Linked DNA regions of Homo sapiens: regions 2 and 3 are each linked to region 1. The links are contacts of gene promoters, found by promoter capture Hi-C in blood cells and fetal thymus (Javierre and others, 2016). All regions are on one chromosome and are shown on one strand. The core of a region is centred on a gene start or on the middle of the fragment in contact, and the rest is flanking DNA. Distances in the headings are between cores, read along the strand shown. Region 1 holds the start of ZNF746 (zinc finger protein 746). Region 2 has its middle 13 kb from the start of TRC-GCA1-1. Region 3 overlaps ZNF783 (zinc finger protein 783).

Evidence for each region. Contacts are between HindIII fragments. The CHiCAGO score rates a contact against its expected background, and 5 or more counts as called.
Region 2: a contact is called between a fragment that was not itself captured here and the fragment with the promoter of ZNF746 in region 1, in 3 of 17 cell types (M2 macrophages, activated CD4 T cells and erythroblasts). The highest score is 6.6, in M2 macrophages.
Region 3: a contact is called between a fragment that was not itself captured here and the fragment with the promoter of ZNF746 in region 1, in 14 of 17 cell types (neutrophils, naive CD4 T cells, total CD8 T cells and 11 more). The highest score is 11.2, in neutrophils.

The regions. Positions count from the first base shown.
Region 1 is chr7:149,496,481-149,499,243 of GRCh38, forward strand. ZNF746 (zinc finger protein 746) reads right to left here and starts at 1,329. Exons shown (of 7, transcript NM_001394198.1): 1 at 1,033-1,329. The coding sequence starts at 1,056. RefSeq lists an enhancer at 1-590 and silencers at 724-783, 1,024-1,693. The HindIII fragment of the contact is 2,699 bases long and covers 300-2,763 here.
Region 2 is chr7:149,295,385-149,298,084 of GRCh38, forward strand. It overlaps the pseudogene LOC155060. Among named protein-coding and RNA genes, the nearest start is that of TRC-GCA1-1, 13 kb to the right of the region's middle. The HindIII fragment of the contact is 7,615 bases long and covers 1-2,700 here.
Region 3 is chr7:149,265,574-149,268,273 of GRCh38, forward strand. ZNF783 (zinc finger protein 783) reads left to right here. Exons shown (of 6, transcript NM_001195220.2): 2 at 762-1,157; 3 at 1,246-1,372; 4 at 1,524-1,649. Among named protein-coding and RNA genes, the nearest start is that of ZNF783, 4.7 kb to the left of the region's middle. The HindIII fragment of the contact is 3,269 bases long and covers 1-2,700 here.

The sequences.
Region 1 (2,763 bases), core at 79-2,578:
AACCCCTTCTTAGTCTCTCTCTGCAGACTCCTTTCCCACTGCCTCCAAACCAAAACCATCTTCTCCAGGCTCATGGACTCCTTTCTGTGCCTGCACACGCCCTGCACTGTCCCGTCTCTCTGCGCCTTTGCCCAGGCACTCCTCCCTCCCTGAAAGCACCACCGGTCTAGCTGGGCCTGAAATCCTAGCCTTCCCTAAAAGCCCGGCTCAAATCACAGAGGCGCAGAGCATCAGGCCAGGAGGGGTGGACAGCGGTACCAAGAGGCCCCCTGACACTCCTTCCCCCGGAGCCCACCGCAAGCTTCCACCTGGGCGCCAGCACTCACCCCTTTCTGTTTTGCACGATTATTGCCCGCGTACCTGCCTGCCTGGTCCTTGAACACACAGCCACTGTGTGTCTTTTCACACTTTCCAGCTGGGTAAGCCTGGGCAAGTTAAGTTCTCTAGGCCCCGGGTTTTTCTTTTGTATGACAGAGATTAACACCAGTACCCATCCCACAGGCTTGCTGTGAGGACAGACTAACGCCTCAACAGGGCTTGTGGAAGTGCGTGGCTCTATATTCCCTTCCGCGCCGACCCCGGGAAGCTGGGCACGTAGTGGGAGTCGGTGTATGCGGATTCGAAGCCGGACACCTCCCAGGTGCCACCAGGCCGCTGCGGGGGAGATGGAGAGGGACCTACAGGCCGAGCGCCAGGCAGAGAAAGGAGCCGCGGGTGGGGGGGCACCCAGAAGGAGGGGACAGCGGCTGGGGCGGGGGCAGGAAGCCCCGGAGGGCCCAAAGAACTTGGCGTGGGGCGGCCCGGGGCGGGGACAACCGTTCCGCCAGCGCTCGGGTTCGGCTCGGAGTGGGGGCCCGGCCGACGGGCGCAGTAGGCCCCGGCGGACCCCGCGCCCCATTCGCGGGAGCCCCAGGCCCGGTGGTCCGGCCCGGACCCCGGAACCCCTCCCCAGGGCCTGCGGCGCCGTGTGCCGGGGCCGGGCCGCCTGGGGCCCCCAGGCCGCGAGTCCCTGCGCGCGCGGGTCGCCCTTACCGGAGCCGCGACCGCCTCGGCCATGGCCCTGCGCTGTCCCGCCCGGCCCGGAGGAAGTCGTCGTCGCCGCCGCCGCGCGCGGCACCACGCAGGCCCGGCCGCCCGGTGCTCTCCGCAGGCGGCGCCTGCCTGGCCTTTCCTCTGCCGCCGCTCCTCGCTGGCTGCCCCTGCGCCGCGCCGCCCGCAGTCGCGCCGCCTCCGTCAGCGCCCGGCCGGTCCACACTGCATCCTGGGAGCCGGCGCCGCGGCCCGGCAGACGAAGGCCCGTGAGGCTTCCTGGAGGCAGCGCGGCCGCACAGCCCCACCTGCAGCCTGAGAGGCGAACGGCAGGCGCTGCGCCCGCCTGCCCGCGGCCCCGCCCCGCCCCGCCCAGCCCCGCCCGCGGGGCCCGACGGGAGGACCTAGCGACCCCGGGCCGACCCCGCGACCCCGCGACCCCGCGACCCCGGCCGGACTGCCGAGCGCGGGGGGAGTCACTGCGCTGGCCCCGCGGCCCAGCCCGAGGACTCGGTTATTGAAAGGGTCCCCCTCATGGGACCCGCCTGGCCGCGCCCGCGGGCGAGCACGGGCTTCCGGGCAGGGCGTCCCCCGGGTGACCGCGGCCAGGGCGGCCCCCTCGCCCTGGGATGCCCGGCTCCCCTTCCCCCGCCCCACGGGCACTTCTGCTGCCCGAGGTCCTGGGTCTGGAGGTTTAGGCTATTTTGGGGAGGACAGATGTAACTCATGCCCACCTGTGTTTGAAATGGAATAAATACTTCCAACAACAGGAATATAGTTCGGTAAACCCCGGTAGGCAACCACTTAGCATTTTCTGTAATGGGTTTATTACAGTAAATTTTTTTAATGGCATGAGCAATGGGACGCAATACCATCATTTAAAATGATTTCGGTGAAGGTCTTGGTAGGAACAGATGTTCATGATGTTTTAAGAGAAAAAGCCTGTCCAGGACGATCCTGTCTTTGTTTTAAAAATAACATTTTAAAACAATATAGGACATATGTAGCGTCATATACTGCGTACATGTATAATTACAGTTTTGAAAAGTTTGGAAGCATATATATCAACATGGCCTCAGTAGTTCTATTAAAGGTCTATTCCTTTAATAGACCACGGGCCGTTTTTATGCCTTTTCTAATTTTTTCCAATTCATGTTTTTATTTTTCCATGACAAGGATAGTATTTTTAAACAAGGAGAGAAAAATAAAAATTTAAATGTTCTCAAAGAGGCCAACCAGAGCAGGGGAAGGAGGGCGCCTTGGACGGGCCCCCACGTAGTTTCAGAGGCTCATTGCCTTTCAGGAACACGACTTGCTCATCTGTGTATTCCCCAAGACTAACTAGCCAACTGCCTAGCACACACTGATAAGAAAATATGTGAGAGATCTGTAATCTTTTTCAAAGAAGGCAGACCTTACAGAATAGATAAAATTTGAGCTGGATCTTGAAGAATTGGCAAAATATTGATAGGCAGAGAGCATTTCAGACCAGAGGGTGGTAGTAGAGGTGTGAGCTGGATGACAGCCCAAAAAAAAATTGATGTAGGAAGATATAAAGCATTTTAGGGCCGGGCGCAGTGGCTCACGCCCGTAATTCTAACACTTTGGGAGGCCAAGATGGGTGGATTGCCTGAGCTCAGGAGTTTGATACCAGCCTGAGCAACATGACAAAACCCCGTCTCTACTAAAAATAGAAAAAATTAGCGAGGCGTGGTGGCACGCACCTGTAATCCC
Region 2 (2,700 bases), core at 77-2,576, 200 kb before region 1:
TCAGGAGGTGCCCTGGGGACAGGCAGCGGGGCAGTGGTGATCAGGAAGGTCTTGGGTGGGGGTCCCTTGCCCAGTTCTCTTTCTCGCGTGAAGATGGAGAATGTGGGTAGCACCCAGAGAGCTCCCTAAAGGGGCTCTGAGGGCCCAGGGGCAGTTGGTGCCCCTTAAATCTGAGCAACCTCTCCTGGGGGCCACTTCTTGGCCAGGTCAAAGTATTCTGGCCATGGTCTTGGCTTCCCGGGGGAGGGCTGTTCTCCCAGGCACTGAGATTGCCCATGGGCCTTCTCGTTGCAGGGAGGCGGCTGGGATAGAGGCCAGTCCCAAACACCTGAGCCTCACTGAGGGGAAGGCCTGGGCTTGGAGATGGGGTGCGCAGGAGTGGCTGGCTTTGCCTTGTTCTATTAGGCGAGTGATTTTCAGAGACAAAGGTCCAAGTTAGGAGACGTAATTACTCAGTGCTTTGAAGGGACATCCAAGGTGCTCACTCTTAGCCATAGCCGTTGGTTTCCTGGATGCTGACTGTGAAGATTCTAAAGTGCTTCCTAGGGTGGGCGGTGGTGGCAGGAGGCCTTGGACGGAGTCCAGGCCAGACCCAGCCTCCTGTTTAATAGGCTGAGCCCAAGCGTCCCTCAGATGCGAATCCAACAGCCTTGGTGAGTTGTAAGATTTCATGGAAACTTTCCCTGACTTCTGTCTCCCCCTTGCTCCCCATTACCTGGGAAAGGCAGCTTTGTGGGCCATGTGTCCCGGAAGGGCCTGGGCTGGCTGTGGCCCAGTGCTCAGGACCAGCCATCTTGGCCCTCACAGCGCCCTGCCCAGTTGGTGTAATATTTGTCTTCAAGCCATTGTTGGAGCAGGCAGGCAAAGGGGGCTTTCTGAGGATCCAACGTGTGCCAGCCACTGGGATACAAAGACAGGCCTGGTTCCTAGCTGTGGGGCTGGGAAGGGTATCTGACATCAATGGTGGCACCTGGCAGAGGACACACAGACAACAGCAGGCAGCATGGGCTGCAGTAAATGTTGCAGAAGCACCTAAAGGTTGAGCAGAAGGGAGGTAGGAAACCTGGACATGGCCTGCCAGCAGCTGAGAAGCCCCCCTGAGATCCTGGCGGCCCCGCCACCATCTGAAGATTTAGGCCAGTCCCTTGGGCTTTTCAGGCAGGCCCTTATGGTGGCCGGCCAGTTTGGGACCCTCCCATTTTGATACATTAGTTCCCCCTCAGCTACTGGAGATCTCAGCCACAACTGGGCTCCAGCTGTGACCCAGACTCCGCCAGGATCCCCTAGATCCTCAGCTGTCAGATAATCCCCTGTCCCCCTCCTCCTCCCCACTCAACCCCCAGTGCTTGACATGAATGCATGTGTGCTTCCTAGGACTAGAGGCCGGTGCTGTCTCTACCATTGCCCTCACTTTAAGGGGCACACGAGCAGATGGTAGCAAGCCCTGGAGAGCAGCACTCGGGCAAGTGAGGTGGCTCTGGCACTGCCCCTGGACTTTCATGTTTGTAGCTTGAGCTGGTTTTAATTGGAAGCTCTGTGATTTACATAATCACTTACAATCTCTGTAAATAAGGAACTATTTATGAGGAATTGTAAATTTCCTCTCTCCCCCTTCTTACCCTGTCTGTGATCTTGTCTGTGATGCAGTAATGATATTCCACTCTAGGTTCCCATGATCAGTGGTGAAATATAGTGATTTTCACCTGTGCTTCCATTCTGAAGTTCTGGAAAGAAGTACTGGATGGACTGAAGTCCAGGACAACGTCCCAAAGAAAGGCAGAGTCCAGGTAGGCTTGGAGGACCAAGCCCTGGATGAGCACTGGAGGGCAGAGGCCTCAGTGTCCAGCACTGTGCCCTGCACATGGAAAGCCCCTACGTTTGTGGAATGAATGAATAATAAAAATGTTTTCATAAGTGATGCCATTCTCAATTTTAATGTCATTGATCTGATAATGCAAATTTTAACAGCACATCTTTACCACTTCCTGCCTTAAATAATAGTTGTTAATACATTTCCAGTATTTCATTGAATCTAAGATCCATTGATTGTAAGACACACCCTTATTTTCTACTTCACTAAGCAAGGAAAAAATGTGTCAATTTCACCATGACTCTTCTCAGTGCAGGATGATAACTAGGTGGTGACATGTGAGCCACTGTTACTATTCTTGACAATGTCAGAGCAACTGATTCATTTCTTTGTTGAGACAGGAGTGGAGTGGCACAATCACGGCTCACTTTATCCTTGACATCCCAGGGCTCAGGTGATCCTCCCACTTCAGCCTCTCGAGTAGCTGGGACTACAGGTGCACGCCACCATGCCTGGCTAATTTTTTTTTTTTTTTGTAGAGACTGAGTTTCACCATGTTGCCCTTGCCCAGGCTGGTCTGGAACTCCTGGGCTCACACAGTCTGCCCACCTCATCCTCCCAAAGTGCTGGGATTACAGGAGTGAGCCACTGTGCCCAGCCAAATGATTCTTTTTTTTTTTTCCCCCTGAGACGGAGTCTTGCTTTGTCGCCCAGGCTAGAGTGCTGTGGCACCATCTCAGCTCACTGCAACTTCCACCTCCTGGATTCAAGCAATTCTCCTGCCTCAGCCTCCTGAGTAGCTGGGATTACAGGCACGTGCCACCATATCAAGCTAATTTTCGTATTTTTAGTAGAGACGAGTTTCACTCGAACTCCTGACCTTGTGATCT
Region 3 (2,700 bases), core at 118-2,617, 230 kb before region 1:
GGGCTCTGCCTTCATGGCCTAATTGCCTCCCAGAAGCTCCACCTCCAAATACCGGCATATTGGGGATTAATGCTTCAGCAGATGGATATTGAGGGAGACACAAGCATTCATTCCATAGCAGTCAGTGTCATCTTAGCCCTGCAACATGGGGCTCATGTTTATTATCTGTGCTGTGCTACACATTGTACTAAGTGCTTTGTACACAGATTTTTCTTAATTCTCTCAGTGCTATTGTATAGGTACTATTATTATCTCCATTTTCTAGATAGGGAAGGGAAGTTGGAAGCTGTTGAAAACACCTTGCCCACAGTTGGCCAGCTTGTAAGTGGCAGAGCTGAGTTGCACCTGGGCTGTCCACTGGGGAGTCATGTTCTCTGTGCCACAAAGCCTTGTCCTTTCATTTTTAGAAGAGGAAACTGAGACCCAAGAAGGGGAGTCACTTGTTTGAGACTGCACGTGGTTGCTCAAGCCTGTGGGGCATGCCCCGTCTCCATAGCTAGCCTGTAGGACAGGAGCCGGGGCTGTTTTTCTTCCACTTTCCCACTTGCTGACACGTTGGTCCAGCCACTATCTCTTGTATCAGTTAGGCTGGATTCCTAACTGATACCCTAGCCTCTCCCTCTCCCCCCCAGTCTGCTGCTAACTCAGGAGCCCAGATGGGACTTTACCATGGCAGGTGTCATTTCCGAAGTGTGTTTTTGAGGTGGAAGTTTTGATTGTATAATTCTCATAACATCTCTCTTTTCTCTTCTTGTGAGCAGGACCCCGAGACAGACAAGCACACAGAGGACCAGAGTCCTTCGACACCCTTGCCCCAGCCAGCTGCTGAGAAGAACTCGTACCTCTACTCCACGGAAATCACACTGTGGACGGTGGTGGCCGCCATTCAGGCCTTGGAGAAGAAGGTGGATTCCTGCCTGACCCGCTTGCTGACTCTGGAGGGGCGCACGGGGACAGCCGAGAAGAAGCTGGCCGACTGCGAGAAGACAGCTGTGGAGTTCGGGAACCAGCTGGAGGGCAAGTGGGCCGTGCTGGGGACCTTGCTGCAGGAGTACGGGCTGCTGCAGAGGCGGCTGGAGAATGTGGAGAACTTGCTGCGCAACAGGAACTTCTGGATCTTGCGGCTGCCCCCGGGCAGCAAGGGGGAGGCCCCCAAGGTAGCACCGGGACACCCTGGGGTGGGGGAGCTCGAGGGGCTGAGCCTGTGAGCGTGTGGGTGAGTGAGTGCGACACTTATGGTTCCAGGTGCCCGTGACCTTCGATGATGTGGCCGTGTATTTCTCTGAGCTGGAGTGGGGCAAGCTGGAGGACTGGCAGAAGGAGCTCTACAAGCACGTGATGAGGGGCAACTACGAGACGCTGGTCTCCCTGGGTAAGGCCACGGAGGGAGGATCTGGGCCTCTGTCCACAGGTTGTCTGTGGACAGTCTGTGTCTTTGCTTTGGCTTTTGGTACTTTGGGCATCTCTGCATCTCTGTGGGCATGTGGGGTCCAGCTCTTCCTCATTTCTTGTTCTGTGCACAGATTATGCAATCTCCAAACCAGACATCCTCACCCGGATAGAGAGGGGAGAGGAGCCTTGTCTTGACCGGTGGGGCCAGGAGAAGGGGAATGAAGTAGAGGTGGGACGTCCAAGGATGATGGGCACTGGTAAGTATAGGAGCCAGATGTGGTTGGGGGGCCGCCAGGGGCTAGCTGCACCATCGCCTACCCTCTCGGGCTTCCCAGACAATCAGGGAGGGCAGGAAGGGAGCATAGACCATTAACCCAAAGTGGGACCACTCTGTACAAGGCCACCCTGGGCAGGAGTGGGTGGCTGGCTTGAGCCATAGGGTTTCTATATCTGTCTAAGGTGGAACATCACACTCACCTTACGTGGTTGTGATGACTGAGTGATAAGTGTTAAGCATGTACATACTGATCACTTTATAATAGTGGAGACTGGCCTGGCGCGGTGGCTCACGCCTGTAATCCCAGCACTTTGGGAGGCTGAGGCGGGCGGATCATGAGGTCAGGAGATCGAGACCATCCTGGTTAACATAGTGAAACCCCTTCTCTAGTAAAAATACAAAAAATTAGCCGGGCGTGGTGGCAGGCGCCTGTAGTCCCAGCTACTCGGGAGGCTGAGGCAGGAGAATGGCGTGAACCCGGGAGGCGGAGTTTGCAATGAGCCGAGATTGCGCCACTGCACTCCAGCCTGGGTGACGGAGCAAGACTTCATCTAAAAAAAAAAATAATGGGGACTTAGTAATACCTCCACCAGCAGCACTGCTGCCTCCTGGCATCTTCACGTGTGTCCATGTCCCCGCTATTGCTTGTGTCCCCTATTGCAGTCCCACAACCCCAGCCTGTGGCAGGAAGGCATGTCACGTGCTGGCTTCCATTTGTGTACATGGCCCTTGGTAGGAGGGCCAGGCATGCCCTGTCCTTGTAGCTGGTATATAGGACAGTGGTTCCAAAGGGGACTGCACATCACAATCCTCTGGGGAGCTTTATTTTTTCAATTAAATTTTAATAAAGTAGAATAGCACAGCGAATCTCCAAATGATCGTCACCAAAACTCAACACTCTGCTGGGTTTTGCCACATGCGCTTCATCCATCTGTTTTTACCCTTTTCCTGAACAATGACCACATACCATGATCACACCCACAGAATATCAGAATATCATCTAATACCATCTAATACCTAGCCTTTGTTTT